3 separate regions of the Homo sapiens genome follow, and all the other regions are linked to region 3. The links are contacts of gene promoters, found by promoter capture Hi-C in blood cells and fetal thymus (Javierre and others, 2016). All regions are on one chromosome and are shown on one strand. Each heading gives the region's core, a stretch centred on a gene start or on the middle of the fragment in contact. The rest is flanking DNA. Distances are from core to core; before and after follow the strand shown.

The links. The method cuts DNA at HindIII sites, captures the fragments that hold promoters and counts their contacts. A CHiCAGO score of 5 or more calls a contact.
Region 1: a contact is called between a fragment that was not itself captured here and the fragment with the promoter of SERP2 in region 3, in 10 of 17 cell types (naive B cells, total B cells, fetal thymus and 7 more). The highest score is 8.6, in naive B cells.
Region 2: a fragment that was not itself captured here is called in contact with the fragment with the promoter of SERP2 in region 3 in 2 of 17 cell types (naive CD8 T cells and total CD8 T cells); the score reaches 5.8 in naive CD8 T cells.

Annotation. Positions count from the first base shown.
Region 1 is chr13:44,051,789-44,054,773 of GRCh38, reverse strand. No RefSeq gene overlaps it. Among named protein-coding and RNA genes, the nearest start is that of NRAD1, 31 kb to the right of the region's middle. The HindIII fragment of the contact is 194 bases long and covers 1,458-1,651 here.
Region 2 is chr13:44,094,724-44,098,031 of GRCh38, reverse strand. No RefSeq gene overlaps it. Among named protein-coding and RNA genes, the nearest start is that of SMIM2-AS1, 14 kb to the left of the region's middle. The HindIII fragment of the contact is 483 bases long and covers 1,165-1,647 here.
Region 3 is chr13:44,372,447-44,375,645 of GRCh38, reverse strand. SERP2 (stress associated endoplasmic reticulum protein family member 2) reads right to left here and starts at 1,822. Exons shown (of 3, transcript NM_001010897.3): 1 at 1,537-1,822. The coding sequence starts at 1,620. LOC105370297 (a long non-coding RNA gene) reads left to right here and starts at 2,080. Exons shown (of 2, transcript XR_001749858.3): 1 at 2,080-2,249; 2 at 2,449-3,199. The HindIII fragment of the contact is 1,852 bases long and covers 715-2,566 here.

The sequences.
Region 1 (2,985 bases), core at 305-2,804, 320 kb after region 3:
ATGATCCTCATCAATGAAATCAGATTTTGTTACATCACCGGAGAGTTCAAAAGCTATTCTCCCTTTTGTATTCTGTGCCAATAGAAAGAAACACACAAGAAGAAGACTGAACTTTAAACTTAGCAAATTTGAAATGCTGGGAGAATTTTATGCATGGTATAAATGATTTTAGATACAAATAGTGTTATTTCATGTTAATACTTCCCCAGAGCCACCATCCTTTTTTGAGTCTGCAAAGTGATTTAATTTTGATCTTTTAGAAATGTTCTTTTCTCCTGAGAAAAAAATTTGTCATGGAAACAGTGGCAAATGCAAAAAGGGTGGGCATTTACAGTTTCCCAAACTGTTAGAATTCTCAAATTCTGTCCCTGTTTTTTATGATGATGGGGGCACAAGGACAGGGATATGGACCGAGGGAGTGTTTGCACCAAGAAGAATATCTAGAAGAGAGTTCTGTACATTTCAGTCTGAATTTCACTGGGTATATGTCTTATGGGGAGAGACTAAGATGTAGAAACAGAGAGAAGAGACCACTGGTGAGAAGATGAGGCCATTCCTAAGATTTTTAATATAAATTTATAAACATACAGGTGTATGTGTATATATATATGCTTTGCACACATATGTATTTATGTGTTGTGTATACATATGTCTGTGCATGTATATGCATATACACACATATATACATACATTACATACATACACACATATGCATACTTTTTCCCACTGAAGTTGTTGAAACTCTTGAAAGTTGGACTTGAGTAATCAAAAGCAGTGCTTATTCTTTTCCATTCAGTACCAAGGAAATCATATTTACCACGGGTCCAGAAAAGTCTTTTCTCTCTTTCTCCTCCCCACTACCCACCAGTCCCCACTCCTTTTGCACATGCTATTTGGTCACTGGCCATCCCGAGTGGCTCATCTAGACAGGGGTATGTGGCCAGGAGAGGTTAGGGGTCGAGATAAGGTGGATGTTTGCTGTAAGGCAGTGCCTTCCTCTCCTTCTTAACCTGGGGTTGTGCTTCTGAGCATGTGAAATGTATTGTTCCTTAGTCCGATTTCCCAAATACAACCTGAAAATGTGAATGTAAATGCCTCTGTCCTTTAGCCAGACGTCTAGAGGGCTATCTGAGGGCCTCAGAAGTAAAACTGACCTCCCCAGGGAAACTAGGCTCTCAATTCCTTTCTTAATTCTCTGTAGGATAATAAAACATGAAGTGGAAGATCTTCTAGACCAGCACCTTAAATTTGCAGATGAGAAAGTTGGAACCCAGAAAGGCTGAGAGGCTCAAGGTCTCACAACTGTTTATGCTCAACTGGGAAATGAATTTGTTTCTCTGGCCCATCAGGTCAACATTCTTTCCACTCAGCTATGCCGCCTCCTACCTCCTGAAAAGATTCTAGCAGGACCCTCTGATGAAAAGGACCTTATCTTTTTATATCTGCTGTTTAAAGCTTTTTTTTAAAATCATCGCACGATTTTATGAGTTAAGTTATGTACATAAACAAATACTATTACTTATTACTTGTTTACTATCGCCCTTCTTTTGGACATCAGAAAACCGAGGGTCTGAGTTGCAGCAACTCCCACAGAATCTCAAAAATGCACCCAGACTGCTCCTGCTTGCAGGACAAACACTCAGTACAAGCTTCCGATGAGGAATGTGGCTGTTGCAAGAACAGGACGCCACGATTCAATCCCTTCCCACGGCTGGCCCTGGCTGCCCACTCACATCAAGCAAGGGCACAGCATCCCTTCCGACAGCCTGACCCCCGCCCCCAGATAAACCGACATGTGGATTGCCAAAGGCATTTATATGCGATGGTGCTAAGACTGCTTGACGCTAACACCACACTTTGATCATTCAGTCAAATCAAAAAGCATTTATTAAGCATCTGTGTGAGGCTCCCTGCCGGGGCTTCTCTTTGTATCCCTAGCATTCACACTTCCCTGCTTTTCTTCTGTATCTCTTCACCCCTGCCCAAGAAAACTCCCCTATCCACAGGAATCTCACTGCTGGTGTTATCATGTCTTACCCAGAGTGGGATCCCATTTTGGTTCCTCCCAAGATGCTATTCAATGTCCAGGATGGAACTTTGAGAGTGGACCGGTCCTCTCTCCATTGTAAAATCTACCCATCCATCTCTGCTTCCTGGAGATTCTGTGTGAGGAGCACCTTAGTTAGGAATCAGAGCAAATGGCGATGAAATTTCAGTCTGTGTTCTTCTTTCAGAATGCAGAGTGAACATTTAAGAGGGTTTTTAGAAAAGCAGTTTACAGCCAGTAATTGGAAGCGTTGAAGTGTTTTTGCAAGACCAGTATCTCAGATTACAGATTTATGATTTGCTTGAAAATAATCATTTATTTTAGGCTTGAACTTTAAAAAGAAAAAAATAAAAGCTTAGAATGATTTTCTTCAAGTTTTCTATGACATTCTTTACATCAGGAAGAGATGAGGGAAGGCAAGATGGAGGTTTTAGAGAGAACGGGGTTCCAATGTTATTTTCCCCTTGGTTCATTTATGAGACTACATTTTCCTAGCTGCATACGCTATTTCCATTGTATGACTCACACAGACAATTTACTACATTTAAAATTGTGTCAAATTCTTTCTGAAAAGCTTGGGTCAAATACACATACTATGTATACAGTTGGAAATTCTTCCTCATAGATCCAGCTCATGGTATGGATGTTGTATTTGTGTCCTCGTAGCCATGGCAACTAGAAAAGGGTTAAGCCAGGGCCTCAGAAAACCCAGAGGCTGTGCAGTAAAATATCATATGTGTGTATATACTTCCTAAAATATACTACTCAAATATGGATTAAGAAATCTTAAAACCACTGTCTTAAAATTAATTTTTCATTCCTAGTATGCATGTTATTGCCTAAAAAGGATACTCTCAAAACAATCTCTTTCACCTCACTCCTTTTCTCTCTAAATTGTCATCTAATGACCATTTATCTCAAAAGACAGACTATGTAAA
Region 2 (3,308 bases), core at 157-2,656, 280 kb after region 3:
TTTGGAATATTGACCAATAACTTTATGAGGATGTATCAGGCTTTTTTTGTTCAATACATTTTTCCTTCTTCTGTCTCATGTCACGTAATTCTTTCAGAATTTAAGTTATAAGAAATTGCATTTCTATTCATTAAGGTCTGATAAGAAAGTGTTATGGTATCTGATCTGAATGAGGATTGTAAGATTGTTTATGTGGTTAAAATTATGTGTTCTTCCTTAAAAGAGCTTGAATTTTAAGGTTTTGCCCTAAGTCATTATTATTGAGTCTACCTAAAGTTTCAACAGTTGCAGAACTGAAGAGAAGATCTGCTTCCTCACTTGGAATAGAGTCCTGAATTTTATAACTATATGAAGAATATAGTTGGAGACAAATGATTTACAACTATTTCGTAAGCAGTGGTAGATGTTCAGGAACTTATTTCTATGGTTTCTTATATTTCTGATGTGTTTGAGGATCATCCCTTAGAAGTCTATAAAGTATCAGGCTATATATATCTAGCCTAGAACTGGGTGGAACAATGAACCATGACTGCTTAATATCAATGCTGCTTAACATAAAAGCACCAACAAATTTTGAAGCAGGGAGGAACTTAAGCTATTGTGCTTAAGCCACTGCTCTCTGGTGGGCCAGTGATTTAGGATCCTGACTTATTTTAATCCTTCCACCTCCCATTATCTATAAGGAAGCAAAGGCACAGAGGGAAGTGTCCTGCCAAAAGTCACACAATTTGTATTTTAGAATTCACCTTCCTACAAGTTCTTCTTCAGAAAAAAAACTGAGTGTGTGAGCTAATCTTTATCTAACAGACTGATTTCACATATTACAAAGATAAAGTCTTGGATGATAGCACCAGACAGAACTATCCTTCATGAAGTTCCTCTTTGTGGGCTCTGGAAATTGGATGTGGGCTCTGTGAATTGGATGGCCATTTTTATTTCCTTTTTGTATTCTTGCAGACTCTGTCATAAAGAGGAAGCCATCAGGTTCTTGGATAATTGCTGAATGGAACTAAGGGAAATGAGAGGAGAGAAGCATCTCAGAGCATGTTTGGACTTGCTGCATGCCTTGGACCCTGCTACACACTGATAACTGAATATTGAGCCCTTGAGCTGATAAACAAGGGTCTTTGACTCGAGAGTGTTTTGCCATCCTGTTTGCAAGCTTTGTGTTTGTTTCCTTTCCTCCAAGAGTACATTTTCTTACTCCTCATATGGCCCCAAACCACACATTGAGAACTATGGCCTAGAGTTTGTGATTAATGGAACCCTATCTCCACTCCAACCTCCACTCATTAACCAATGATCTCTACTGGTGCCTGTCACATTTACAAATATGTGAGAGGCCTTAATTTAAATCTGGAACTAAGCTAGTGATTTCAATTACAATAGTCTGACTCATTCCGACATTATCATTGGGTAAAATAGCCTCAGTTTCCTTATCTGTAAAATGAATTCAATGTTGGCAACACTGGTCTTAAAGTAAAATAACTTTAAGAAAATTGCTGAAGGCTATGGCGTATGACTTAGTGTATTATTATTTTATAATGGAGAGTTTTACCTACCAAAGAAAGGAGTTATCAGCTGCCCGTTGCATTGCTGGTAATTTATTATTAATGATTTCTAAAAACTCTAACATTGCAGGAAGCTTCAAGCATCATTACTGCATTACATTTTGCTTTTGTGTTAATGGACAGCTATTTTTCACTGTCATTTTCATGAGTAGAAAGAGAGCACAGATGAACAATTTTAACAAATATAGGACAATAGAAGACATATTCCAGACTTCAGCATTTATTAATAGAATGATCAAATTCAGCCTTATCAGAATGGAGAACTTCCTGGTCACAGACAGTAATCTATATACCTCCTTCTCACCAGTGCCCTCACCTCGTTAACCCACTCAGAGGCAAGGGTCAGGAAACACTGCACTTAGTACTTTTGTGCTTAAAAAATTAAAGAATCCAAATTATCACTTTTTGCTTTCTACATAGTTGAGAAAAAAAAGTAATGTTACAATCTCAGACCATGGAGGAACTTCTATTCACTTCAACTGAACTTCTTTATGGATTAGAATGAGGAAGCCCTTTGATGTCACCAAAGAGGTCTTTTCCTTCTAGAAGGCTTTTAAAAAATCATGTTCCAGGGAGAGTTCTCTGTTTTTCAGACAATTCTTGGAAGTAAAGACCTCCTTCTCCCCCACAATCTGGAATAATCAACTGGGCTTGACAGCCCAGTTGCACATACTACAGAAGCAAAACTATCCTAACCCCCAATGTTAAAAAATGGAAGCAATTCTTTTCTATTGAAGTCACAAGTCCCCATTCTACATCTTCAGCTTGTATTCTCTCCCGATTCCTAATATACCATTCATAGTAAAAATGCATGTGCCTAAGGATGGTTCTGTCTGAAGATGCTATCAGTCAGCAGAAACAAAGACATTGGGGGTCTCGTTTTATCTTCTTGTTGCAGGTAGTTAGACATAGACATGAGGGAGGCAAGACAGGGCTTTTCTCTGCCACCCACTAGGAATGTCAGGTGATGGTTCAACAATTATCATACTGCCTCTCTAAAAAATGTGGCCAGAGCCGGGGAGAGACAGTCTCCAGCTGATCCACAGCTGTTAACATTAAAGTGTTCATTGAATGCCGATGTCAGGGAGAAGCAACTTCCTGGGCATACGCATTAAGAGACAAAATGGTAGAATATGACCTTCTGGGGGCACTCCACTAGAAAAGGGAAGAAAGCCTCAGATGGCCATGCATACAACTTCCTAAACACCCTGTGTGTGCTCACTTCCCAAGGGTAAGGAGGGTACTACACATGTGGGCAGCTCACCTCAAGAGAAAAATCACGGGAAAGGGATGCAAGATGGCAGCCTATAAAGTCCTAGGATCATGGTTAAACACCACACTTGTTGTTCACCCACAATCTGGAATAATCTAAGTCTTGTTCTTCACATCACCCACTTCACGTTCTTCCAAGTGTTCTTTCCTTTTCTAAAGCCTTGTTTTTTGTTTGTTTGTTTGTTTGTTTGTTTGTTGCTTTTTTGTGGGTTTTTTTTTTTTTGACAAGAGTTTCACTCTTTTGCCCAGGCTGGAGTCCAGTGACTCAATCTCAGCTCACTGCAACCTCCGCCTCCCAGGTTCAAGCAATTCTCCTGCCTCAGCCTCCCGAGTAGCTGGGATTACAGAGGCCTGCCACACTCCTGGCTAATTTTTGTATTTTTAGCAGAGATGGTGTTTCACCATGTTGGCCAGGCTGGTCTCAAACTCCTGACCTTGTGATCCACCCACCTCGGCCTCCCACAG
Region 3 (3,199 bases), core at 573-3,072:
TGTCAGTTAGCAGGTCTGATCCCTTGAGAAGGAAGAATTGATCTCTTAGGGATATAAAACCCTGCATGCCTTAACATCAATTATAAGTTGCTTCTCAATGTCAACCCGGGCAGCCATTTTTTTTTCCTCAGTAAAAATAGGGAAAACATAAATCAATGTGACAAAATGGTTCCAATTTGATGGCATCTTGGCATTTTGCTGCCTAATCACAACTGAGTGATATAATTCCTAAATGAGAGAATTTTAAGGATTACTTAGGTCTTGTGTATAAAGCTCTGAGTAGAGTTGAGTTATGCTTAGACTTGTGTATAAAGCTCTGAGTAGAGTTGAGTTTGGTCCTAGAGTTTCTCTGCCGTAATACTGCTTGGTTTTGCAAGAATTCTGGTGTGATGATTACAGATCTAGCTTTTTGCTTAGTTAATCAAACCAATATAGTTTCTTTGGCTAAAAGGAATTGATTCATCAAATCTGCAAGCTTTCCCAGCCAAACTCCAGGCTTCAGCTGGATTTCCACTTAACTGTACGGGGTAACAGATCCCAGGCGCCTTTGCTCATATACTTGGAGACCAACTTCGCCAAACTACCCATGCGACTCATGCCTCTGAATGTCCAAAGTCACAGGCCTCGCATTTTCTGTTGATGATAATCTGCTTTGCTAAAAGAAACTCCTGAGTGTAAGGCACAGGTTTTACTTAAAAGTCCAGTTGCAAAGCTTGAATTTACAGTTCTAGGGACACCGAATGCCTGACAATAAACTGGTCTCTAAAGTTATACCATGAGAATGAGTCTGAATTCACCAAGTGGAAAGAATAGGAATGCTGCCCTTAGACTTTAGCCTAGGGGCTGAGGGAGGTCTCGCTGGAAGAGAGGTAAAAGAGAAAAAAGAGGCTGGAGGGAATGTGGGTCCAAATCTCACTCCCCATTTTGAGCTCTTTCCACACCTCCAGTGAAACCGTCACAAAGGGGCTGGAAAGAAAACTTGATCCTGGTGCAAGTCTGTTGGGGAGGGAAGACAGGTGGAGTCCGGGAGGAGATGACAAGTGGCCTCCATTTAGCCATTGATTCATTCATTCATTCAACAAACGTTCTAGAACATACTAGGTTCCAGGCTCTGTGTCATGCAACGTTCTAGAACATACTAGGTTCCAGGCTCTGTGTCATGCAGTTGACTTAACTGGCCCCTAAGGATGAGGCTTTCCGTCTTTCTCCGGGACAAGGCCCAGCTGTCTCCCGGGCAGGGGGACAGGGGGTGCGGGTCGGGGAGGAGGGCTCCTCTGCGCCTCCCTGGTAGCCCAGGTAGCCACTCCCAGAGGGGCCACGACCAACCAGGGCCCTCTCCGCCCACGAGGACGCCAAGCAGACCGCGCCGCCCTGAACCCAGCTCTCAGCCCCCACTCTGCAGGACCCCGCAGAAGGGGCGGGCCGGGAGCCGGGAGGCCGGACCCTGCGCCGCTACCCGCCCGGCCCCGCCCCCACCTTCCGCCCCACCCCGCCGGGCTGCAGGGCTCTGCCTGGCCGGCGCCGACCCCGCCTTACCAGGGTTTTGGCTACGTTCCCCCTCTGGGTGATGTTTTTGCTGTGCTTCTCGTTAGCCATCCGGATCCGCTGTTTGGCCACCATGGCTTGTGCGCTCTGAAATGCTCCCACCTGCAAGGATTCCCCCTGCGTTAGCTCCTGCGACAGGGCCGAGCGCGTCCCGCCGAGGCCCCCGCGGCCCACCCGGGCGCTGCAGGTGGCAAGGCGTGGCCCCGAGCCCTGCGCACCCCGCTCCCCGAGCCCCGGCTAGCCGACTCCAGAGAGAGGCCGCAGCCCGGACGGAAGTAATCTCTCATCTCAGGAAACCCTTTCCGACTTCCTCGCCATCCTTCCGGTCCCCGCAGCCACCTACCCCGCGCGGCCACCGAGGCAGGCGCGACCGCACGTCCTCCCGCGCCGAGCGGCCGGAGCGCAGCGCGCAGAGCCGGGGCCCTGCAGTGTCGCGGTCCTGTAGCCGAATGCTGCGGGGCCGAAGGTTCGGGCGACCACGGCGTTTGTGAGCGCGTCGGGGACGGGGACGCGGCCCCTCCTGTGTTTGTCGGCCGGTGACCCACCCCAGCCCCGGGGAAGGGATGAGGGCGGCCGCGCTTCAGGCCGGGCCGCGCGGTCTCCCCTGCACCGCCGCCCCCTGGACGAGGGCTGGACCCAAGGCGGTGGTCAGGGACCTCAGAACACAAGTAGAACCAGTCCAGGCCCGGGCCCGCGCTGCCCGGGTATGGTCCACCAAACGAGCCTTCTCTTTAAGGGTCTCGAGAAGGGCCCCACGCTGGGGGACCCCACTGCAGAACTTTTCGTGAGGGCTGCAAGGAGGGCCGCGTTGTAAAATAAAGAGGAGACACGAAGCGGCATCCCCTGAGGGTTGGGGATCGGGCCGTGAGGATGGAGTTGGGACAGGCCTTTTTGCTTTGGTAGTTGTAGGGGTTGCATTGGAAGATGGGCCAGCGGCAGAGCGGAGCATGCAGGAAAGAGGAAGAGGCCTTGGACCTGCAGCCCAGGTCGGATTTGGTGGTTACTGTCTAAATCTGAAGCTTTGGCCTGCCTTGACTCCCCACCCACCCAGGGCAGCTTGGACCTCTCTCTAGCCACCCTTGTCCCGAGGGGTCTGAGTGTCTCCCAGACTAAACTGGGCATTTTCTGCAGTGGAAGGATAAAAATGGAAGCGTTTACGCGCCTCCCAGACACTGGTATTAGGGCTCAAGAGCTCTACAGATTGCCTGGGGAGGTAGGGGTGGAAGGGGTTCAGTTCCTCACTTGGAGTTAGCTCTTAGAAGCTCAGAAGAGTGGAGGCGAAGAGGGGACATTCAGCCTGGGAGATCTGGGGCAGCGGGAAGTGGGGATACCGGGTCGGGGTGAAGGCAAGCAGCAGCACCCCCAGCATGGGGAAGAAGGCCTGAGGCTGTCTCTGGCCACTGCATCTCTAGGCCTTCTCTTGGAGCGGGAGGTGGCTGGGTTTCCAGGGAATTTTGTGTGAGTAAAATTTTCCCATGTCATTGGAGAGTTAGGAAGAGCTCCTCTTTTGGGGCCTTTTTCCAAGCGGGTCCCCCTCACCCCGCTACAGGCTTCTTGTCACTCAGGCTTCAATAAAGGCCATTCTGGGGGCTGCTTGCTGTAACCTAGAAGACAGAATTGCCTAGGATCATTAGTAGAGTCATTTTTTTTTTTT